3 separate regions of the Homo sapiens genome follow, and regions 2 and 3 are each linked to region 1. Evidence: promoter capture Hi-C in 16 types of primary human blood cells and fetal thymus (Javierre and others, 2016). All regions are on one chromosome and are shown on one strand. Each heading gives the region's core, a stretch centred on a gene start or on the middle of the fragment in contact. The rest is flanking DNA. Distances are from core to core; before and after follow the strand shown. Region 1 overlaps ANKFY1 (ankyrin repeat and FYVE domain containing 1). Region 2 holds the start of CAMTA2 (calmodulin binding transcription activator 2). Region 3 holds the start of MINK1 (misshapen like kinase 1).

What was found. Contacts are between HindIII fragments. The CHiCAGO score rates a contact against its expected background, and 5 or more counts as called.
Region 2: the fragment with the promoter of CAMTA2 here is called in contact with a fragment that was not itself captured in region 1 in 1 of 17 cell types (neutrophils); the score reaches 6.4 in neutrophils.
Region 3: the fragment with the promoter of MINK1 here is called in contact with a fragment that was not itself captured in region 1 in 1 of 17 cell types (neutrophils); the score reaches 5.0 in neutrophils.

Annotation. Positions count from the first base shown.
Region 1 is chr17:4,253,730-4,256,600 of GRCh38, forward strand. All of the region lies in intron 1 of ANKFY1 (ankyrin repeat and FYVE domain containing 1), which reads right to left. Among named protein-coding and RNA genes, the nearest start is that of ANKFY1, 8.8 kb to the right of the region's middle. The HindIII fragment of the contact is 4,992 bases long and covers 1-2,871 here.
Region 2 is chr17:4,986,206-4,989,076 of GRCh38, forward strand. CAMTA2 (calmodulin binding transcription activator 2) reads right to left here and starts at 1,470. Exons shown (of 23, transcript NM_015099.4): 1 at 1,388-1,470; 2 at 1-81. The coding sequence starts at 17. It overlaps INCA1 (inhibitor of CDK, cyclin A1 interacting protein 1), which reads right to left. Exons shown (of 7, transcript NM_001394789.1): 6 at 2,574-2,739; 7 at 1,925-2,349. The coding sequence ends at 2,200. CAMTA2-AS1 (CAMTA2 antisense RNA 1) reads left to right here and starts at 1,539. Exons shown (of 3, transcript NR_187235.1): 1 at 1,539-2,020; 2 at 2,211-2,387; 3 at 2,482-2,871. RefSeq lists a silencer at 950-1,489. The HindIII fragment of the contact is 15,391 bases long and covers 1-2,419 here.
Region 3 is chr17:4,831,818-4,834,688 of GRCh38, forward strand. MINK1 (misshapen like kinase 1) reads left to right here and starts at 1,523. Exons shown (of 32, transcript NM_153827.5): 1 at 1,523-1,823. The coding sequence starts at 1,767. RefSeq lists an enhancer at 580-1,366 and silencers at 1,344-1,813, 1,824-2,073. The HindIII fragment of the contact is 4,876 bases long and covers 1-2,871 here.

The DNA of each region.
Region 1 (2,871 bases), core at 278-2,777:
TCTTATTCACTTCACTGGTAGTATCTTGAACCATGTGGCATGCGTGGTCTTTGAGCATTCAGAAACTGCACACAGAGGAATTTCAGACATCTTCTGACTTAATAAACTACACGACTTTACCTACCATGGCAGGCAGAAAAATGACACCCCCATAAGATACTAATATCCTAATCCCTGGAACCTGGGAATGTTACCTTATATGACAACAACAACAACAACTAAGTGTCTCTGCATTGACCAAAACATCATTATGCAGCACGTAACTGTTCATGTATCCTTGTAAGAGGGAGCAGGGGCTGGCCGCGGTGGCTCACGCCTGTAATCCCAGCACTTTGAGAAGCCAAGGTAGGCAGATCACGAGGTCAGGAGATCAAGACCATCCCGGCTAACACGGTGAAACCCCATCTCTACTAAAAATACAAAAATTAGCCAGGTGTGGTGGCAGGCGCCTGTAGTCCCAGCTACTCGGGAGGCTGAGGCAGGAGAATCGCCTGAACCTGGGAGGCGGAGGTTGCAATGAGCCAAGATCGCACCACTGCACTCCAGCCTGGACCACAGAGTGAGACTCCATCTCAAAAAAAAAAAAAAAAAAAAAAAAAAAAAAGGAAGGCACAGAGGGAGTCTGACCCACTCAGAGTAGGTCTTGTGAACACAGAACAGAGAGAAATTTGAAGATGCTGTCCTTGAAGACTGGAATGATGCAGCCAATAGCCAAGGAATGTCAGCAGCCTCTTGCAGGTGGAAGAATCAGGAAAAAGATTTTCTCCTAGAGCCTCCAGAGGGAATAGGGCCCTACTGAGACCTTGATTTGAGCCCAGTGATACTGATTTCAATCAGACTTCTGTCATCCAGAATCATAAGAACACGTTTCTGTTGTTTTAAGCCATCTAGCTTGTGGAAATCTGTTACAGCAGCCACATGAAACTAAAACACCTATACTTACAAACAAAAAATTCTGTATAGTAAAAGATTTTAATGCCCTAGTAACTTTTTGCTAGATTAGTGTCAACATCATTCTATGGAGTAAAAGGAAATGTACACTTTCCTGTAATATTTTGCAATAAGACAGAAAGTGGGAATTAATATTTTTTATGTCTCCTATGGCAGTTAAGTTCTTCACATTCATCATCTCAGATTCTAACTATATTGAAAAAGTAATATACTAACAGTGAAACTCACTTAAGTGAGTTGCCTAAAATCACACAATTAGCAGAAGACAGACTCAAGATTTGTGGTCTTAAGCCAGAACGCATCCCATTAACACCATGATGCCAGATTTCAGCTCCAGTATCAGAACACCAAGATTAGTCATTAATTAATCCAGGAATTAAATGAGCTCCTTCATTTCCTATAGTAAATGCACTCTACTCCCCTCCAGCCACTCCAGTTCTAACCCACACTGTATTCAGTCTTTCTAGATTCACATCACCCTGGCATTTCCTTTCTCTACACTCCTATAGTTCTTCTATTCTAGCCAAAACTTTAGCAATGAATTAGTGTTCTTCATGTAATTCTTTTTTTTTTTTTTTTTTTTTGAGACAAGAGTTTCTCTTGTCGCCCAGACTGGAGTGCAATGGTGTGATCTTGGCTCATGGCAACCTCTGCCTCCCGGGTTCAAGCAATCCTCCTGCCTCAGCCTCCTGAAGCAGCTGAGATTACAGGCGCCTGCCACCATGCCCAGCTAATTTTTTTGTATTCTTAGCAGAGACAGGATTTCGCCATGTTGGCCAGGCTGGTCTTGAACTCCTGACCTGAGGTGATCCCCTGGCCTCGGCCTCCCAAAGTGCTGGGATTACAGGCATAAGCCACCGTGCCCAGTCTCTTCATGTAATTCTTTAATGACTAAATGACTTTATACCTATTCTGCTTTAACTATGTCCATTAGATAAAAGAGAAATGATTGTAAAGGCTGTGATAACATTCTATTTGGAGAACTACAAGAATAATTTTTTGTTCCAGGCTTATATTAGGATCTTCCACAAAAAAATATTTCATTAAAGTGTCAGCTTCCCAGAAAATACTATCTTCCTTGGCATCAGATTAGAAAAGCTCTTCACTGGTGATTAATTACCACCACTACTACTTTTCTTTTTTTTTTTTCTTTTGAAACGGAGTCTCACTCTTGTCGCCCAAGCTGGAGTGCAATGGCGCGATCTCAGCTCACTGCAACCTCCGCTTCCCAGGTTCAAGCAATTCTTCTGCCTCAGCCTCCCGAATAGCTAGGATTACAGGAGTGCACCACCAAGCCTGGCTAATTTTTGTATTTTTAGTAGAGACGGGGTTTCACCATGTTGCTCAGGCTAGTCTCAAACTCCTGATCTTGTGACCTGCCCGCCTCGGCCTCCCAAAGTGCTGGGATTACAGGTGTGAGGCACCACGCCCAGCCCACAAATATGGATGTTTAAAAGCTCCCAGGTGGCCAGGCGCGGTGGCTCATGCCTGTAATCCCAGCACTTTGGGAGGCCAAGGCGGGCGGATTACGAACTGAGGAGATCGAGACCATCCTGGCTAACAGAGTGAAACCCCGTCTCTATTAAAAATACAAAAAATTAGCCAGGCGCAGTGGCGGGCGCCTGTAGTCCCAGCTACTCAGGAGGCGGAGGCAGGAGAACGGCGTGAACCCGGGAGGTGGAGCCTGCAGTGAGCTGAGATCGCACCACTGCACTCCAGCCTGGGCAATAGAGCGAGACTCCATCTCAAAAAAAGAAAAAACTCCCAGGTTAACTGTACTGTGCAGGGTTCTCCAGGTTGAGAACTATGTACTAATGGAACGAGGGAGAGAGGAAAGCACAGATGTGAGAGGTGTACAGCATCCGGGGGATTTGGTGACTGATGCAGATCTTGGGGGGAGTCGGAGATAACTTTTTGGTG
Region 2 (2,871 bases), core at 220-2,719, 730 kb after region 1:
GTGTCCTTGGTATTCATGGTGAGGGCTCCAGGGGGCAAGGTCACCCCCGGCCTGAGGGGCCGGGGGGAGGGGGAGTCTGTGCTGGGAAGGGAGAGAACAAGGTCATGGCAGAAGCCCCCACATTAATCCAGGATGAGAAGTATGAGGTAGGGAGTGGGTATAGAACTGGGTCATAGTATCTGGGAAGGATGAGGAAAGGGAGGGAGGGGCTGACTGTGATGTGACAGTAGAAGAGAGAACAACACACAGTGCCCGGAGCCAATATGAGTGAGCAGACTGGACAGGAAGAGTGAGCAGGAAGAAATGGGTTGGGGTGGGGGAGCGGGGAGAAGACTGGCAGGGCTTGGGCCTCAGAGGCCCTAAACCTTGAGCTTTTGCACAGACTGGGGCTATGGTTGGGTCAGGTCCTGGGGGTTGGGACTCAGGCCATCCGGTCCTTGGAGGATGGTTTGGCAAGAGAGCCTGGATCCTGGGGGCAGGGCAGGAGATTCTACCTCCGGTAGAAGCTAGGCCTTTAGAAGACACGCCCTGAGTTCCTTCTCTGTTTGATTTTTCCAAGGGGAAGGGCAGATCTGATAACTGAACCTAACCTATTCTCTCCTCCAGGTTGGTTAGGACCTGATAGAATCTGGGCCAGACACCCAGATTCCCACCCTCAGGACAACCCACCCTCCGGCTGACAGCCCTCTCTACGTAGCTCCCTCTCCCCAAACGCCTCTGCCTCCCCTGGCCTCCAGGCCTAGCCTACCCCATCTACCGCTCTGGCTCCAGCCTGAGCCCCCCGCCCTCCTCGGGGAACAGATGGGAGCTGGCGGAGGCTCTCAGCACGGGCTCCGCCAGGTGTCCAGGATGGAGATGGGAGGAGGCCCGTCGGGCTCGGCTATGTGCAGTGAAGCTGGGGTTGGGGTAAGGACTCCGCCCCAGGGCGCAGGTGCGCAGTCCTGGCTAGGCAGCCTGCCAGGGTGCGGAGCGGGAGCGGGTCCTTGGGCTGCACTTGGGCGGCGCCGGATCGGACGCTTGGCACTCTGGGCGGCCCCCCGGCGGAGTGGTGGTCCCAGGAGAACCTCCGAGGTGGGAGGGTCCCGCCCGCATAGAGGGATGTTCTGGAGAAGCCGGGAGCAGAGTCCGCGGGCACGCGGTGGGCGAGGGACAGTGCAGGTGCCGGGTGCGGGGGTCTCCGGGACAGTCCCCGGCACGCGCTGGTCCGCCGTGGGGCCCTGCGGTGAGCGGCGCCCCCTGGCGCGGGGGAGGAGGACGGAAGCGGGAGGTGAGGGCGAACCGGGAAGAGGGACGGTGGTCCCTGGCGCGGCGCTCCGCGTCGGGACCTGGAGGAGCTGCGCCCTCTGGCGCGGGGGCGGAGAGGCGGGCGAGAGGCCCTGGCTCTTACCTCCCGGGGTCCCGCGGGTGACGGCGGCAGCGGCCATTCTACCCCACACCGACCCCCCCCAGCGCCGGCTGACAGCGGCGTCTAACGTCACTGCGCACGGGGCGGGGCCTCCCAATTAAGGGGATGAGGGTCAGGAAGGGAACCTGGGGTCAGCACACGTGGAGTTCTGGGTGGGGCGCTGGGCAGAGGGACTCGGCTTCTAGGGCTCTGAGCCAGGCCGAGGGACAGACTGCTGGGAAGTCCCCAAAAGGGCAGCAGCACTGAGGGGCAGGATTCCAGGGTCCTGGAGGCGGAAGCTCGGCCGACTGACTCCCAGTTCGAGAGAACGGGGCGGGGGCAGCCCACCAGTGCTGGAACCCGAGGGGCCGGGCGAGGAACGCTGGACTGGGAGCAGGACCCTTCTCGCCTCGGACAAGACTCCTTGTCTGGGGACCCAGCCCGACTTCATTGTAGCTGGGTCCTCGAGAAAGCGAAAGGAGCCCTCCTTCCCCATTGGCCTCTCCATCGCTGCATCCCAAGAAGAAAGACAACTCGGGCTCCACTTGCTTGCTTTTTAATAACAGAGCAGAGAGAATACAAGGCCAGGAGCGGGGCCTGGAGGAAAACAGGACTTGGGGTGCTCCTGTGAGAGCGGTGGGTTGAGATGGGAGCCCACGGGGGCTGTTAATGCCTAGTTCAGAGGATGGGAAAGGCAGTTGGAGAGACGAAGGAAGGGGAAACGCCTTCATGTCAGCAATGAGGGTGACTCTAGTGACGGAACTAGTCTTGGGTCCCTGGGGCACCACTAGCCTCTCGGCATCGGTGGTTTCTCCTTACTCTTCAGACGCTGCCAACTCCATCCCCCAGGGATTGTGAAGGGGGTTCCTTCTGGCTGTGACAGTGCTGAACGAGGCCAGAGAGTGCAGCTGCCTGGAGGCACAAGCCTCCTCCTGATCCAGGGGGCTCCAGGGAGACCAAAGCAGCTGTCAAGATGAGAGAAATTGAAAAAGAAAATGGAAAAGTAGGTCTTCTTTCCAGATTTCCTAGTACCCAAGCTTAGGTACCTCGAAGTCTCTGGTTCTCACCTACGTTATTTTTGTTTCTCTCAAATCCAGCTCTCCAGCCTGGCTCTCAGCTTCTGCATCTCCATGCAAGACCAGAGACCCACATCACTCCCTCACTCCACCCAGTTCCACTCCAACAATACCTGGGCCCTGCCAGGAGTGAGAAAACGGTCCTCTTCCTGTGGATAGGTTGCTCTCTCCTCTTCCAGATCAGGGTATTCATTGGTGCTGGGGAATCCACAGCCCTCTTCGCCAAGCACCACTGGCTCAGATGCAGCCCCAGAGCTGCCCCACTGGGCCTTCTTCAGTCTGTGGAGACTTTAGGCTGAGGAGAGAAGTGCCTGGAGGCCAGGCTTCCTGTCTCTCCATTCTTCACCTTTCTGTTCTGAAATACTTCCTGCTGGGACTCCAGGGAGTTGTCATTTGACCTTTAACCCTCCA
Region 3 (2,871 bases), core at 273-2,772, 580 kb after region 1:
CAGCACTTTGGGAGGCCGAGGCGGGCGGATCACGAGGTCATGAGATCGAGACCATCCTGGCTAACATGGTGAAACCCCGTCTCCACTAAAAATACAAAAAATTAGCCGGGCGAGGTGGCGGGCGCCTGTAGTCCCAGCTACTCAGGAGGCTGAGGCAGGAGAATGGCATGAACCCGGAAAGCGGAGCTTGCAGTGAGCTAAGATCGCACCACTGCACTCCAGCCTGGGCGACAGAGTGAGACTCTGTCTCAAAAAAAAAAAAAAAAAAAAAAAAATAGAATTGACTTGAAGGAGTCAGGCCGGAAGGCCAAATAGGAGATGAATGGGGATAGCGGCTTGAATAAGGGCAGTGGCAAGGAAAATGGGCTAGGGGTTAGGGAAGGGGGCCGACTGGCTGTGCACCCAAATGCTAAAAACGGTCCAGAAAGGAATGTGTTCAGCTATTTTTCAAGGACTTCTAAATTAAACTCTCTTAAATGATGTTTATATTAAGGCTGGTGGTGGAGTCTTTCAGAGGCAGTGTTGGTGCTAGAAGAGCTCTTGAGGATCATACAGCCTCCCCCCTCAATTTCACAGTGAAAGAAAACCTCAGAGAAGCAAAGCAACTTGCTCAAGGTCACACAGCATTTCAGTGGTAGAACATGACTCGTGGTTCTTAGATAGCATTACCCAGCCTCCACTGAGGCTAATGGCTGTAGGCGCTATGCCAACATGACTAGATCTAAGGTGACCCAAGCTATATTTTAAGGGACTGAACGCAGATTCCCTCTCTTCCCCTTCGCCACCCCTTCCTCCACGCGCGACTCCAGTGATCAATGAATAATTGTGGAAACAGTTCCTTTGTGCAGAACACTTTGTTAAAAGAGGTGCAGAGATACACGTCTGCGGTAGGATTCCTTATCCTGAGATCTGAGAGCACCTCGATGCTTCCCCAACCTGCTAGGTGAGGGTGGAAAGGGCATTCCTGAGGCAGCCGGTGCCCCTCCTCTGCCCCCCAACTCCCACGTGGTTTCTCCAGCCAAGTTCTCACGGAGTGGCCCCTCCCTCAGCGGCTCCACTGTTGCCATAGCAATTGGGTGGGTGGACAGCCCGTCCTATCTAGAGGCCACCCAGCCCTCGCGTGGGGAGTTACCATAACAACCCCCTAGTAATAGAGGGGGTTGGGTACCGCCCCCTTCCCCCGCAAATGGAAAGGTGGGTGGCTTGATTGGCAGCTGGGCACACGAAAGAAGGAGGGAAAGGGAAGGAAAGGCGTCAAAGGAGATCTGAGAAGGAAATAAGGGAGAGAAAGGGCAAAAAAAATAGGGAAAGAAAAGGAAACGCGTGTGCGCACGCGCACCAGCTGGTGGGCGCGCTCCGCGGCCGCCTCGGCCGCCGCCCACTTCTTTCACGCCAGGCTCGCGCGGTCGCTCCGTCCTCGCGCGCGCCTTTCGCCTGCTCGCCTGCGCCTGCGCGCAGGTGTCGGCGCCTAGGGGGAGGGGGCCCCGGCGCGCTCGCGTCACGCTCGCGCTTCCACCCTCCCAGTGCGCGGTCGCTCCGCGCCTGCGCAGGAGAGGTGGTAGGCTCGGGTGGCTGGCTCCGGGGAGATAGCGCCTGTCAGTCGGTGGGTCGGTCCTCGCGCCGGCCCTCCCCCTCCCCGGTCTCCGGGGGAGGCGCGGTGGAGTCCGCCCCCGGGGTTCTCCGATGGGGGAGAAGCGGCGACGGCGGCAGTGGAGTAACCGAGCCGGAGCGTGAGCGGCCCCGGTGCCCCGTTCCCCACGGAGGCCATGGGCGACCCAGCCCCCGCCCGCAGCCTGGACGACATCGACCTGTCCGCCCTGCGGGTGAGCGCGCCGTCCCCCAGCCTCGCCCTGGTTCCTGTCCCCGCCGCAGGGGAGGGAGCGGGGTGGCTGCACGCCTCACGTGCTCCCGGGCGCCCCCTCCACCAGCTTGGGTCCCCTTGGCGACCCGTGCCCCTTTCCCGGACTCCCGCCGCGGCTGGGCCCCCGCCCTCTGCTCCCTTCTCTCTCCACTGGCTGCAGATGCTGGGAGCCAGTTCGGTCCCCACCCTGTGGTGCCCCGCCCCCACACTTCCGTGCCACCCTACCTTTACTCTGGGGTTCGGGACCCACTGGTTCGCCTAAACTTAGCCTCCCCCATCACCTGGAGAACCTTTATTGTGGTTCCTTACCTCCTTTCGGCCCTTTTCCACCTTTGCCCTTACTTCTATCTTCTTCCTTCCCCTCCTCTTCCTCAGCTCCTGGAATTTTGACTTTGCAACTGTCTCGACAGCCTCTCTCTCATCCCTCTTTCTCTGCCTCGCCCACCCTTGAATTGCATCCTTTCCCTGGTCGGAATTTCAGCTACCCCACCCCTCGTGCCGTCACCCTCAATCCCATGTTCAGTTTTCCCTATCCCTTCTCTCCTGTTTCAAGTGCAGCAGTTCAGAACCAGGCATTTCCGGTCTCAGGGTCCCTGAATATTACATGACCAACTCTGCAGCAGCGTGGGGCTGGGAGCCCTCGGGGAGGAGGGGAGGCATTTCTTCTCTTTGGAAACTGTAGCACGGGCTGGGAAGAGGATGTTTACACACACACACACGCGCACACACGACACATGCTACATGTGGTCAGGCTGAAGGTTTGGAAAGGCAGTGGGTGTTTATGTTAGCTAAAGGCTGGAAGCAATGGAGACCTCTCAAGGTAGGGGCTAATAAGGAAAGGGGTTGAGAGGAAGCAAATGCTGCAGGAATTTCTTGGAAATACCCGTTCATTGTCCCTTGTGGGGCACTTACACACTCTGGTGGAAGAGCTTTCTGTAGCATTTATGTTTTTCTTCGGCAGGGAGCTTTGGCTTAAGGGGCAACTTAGTGATTTCAAGGTGAACACTCCA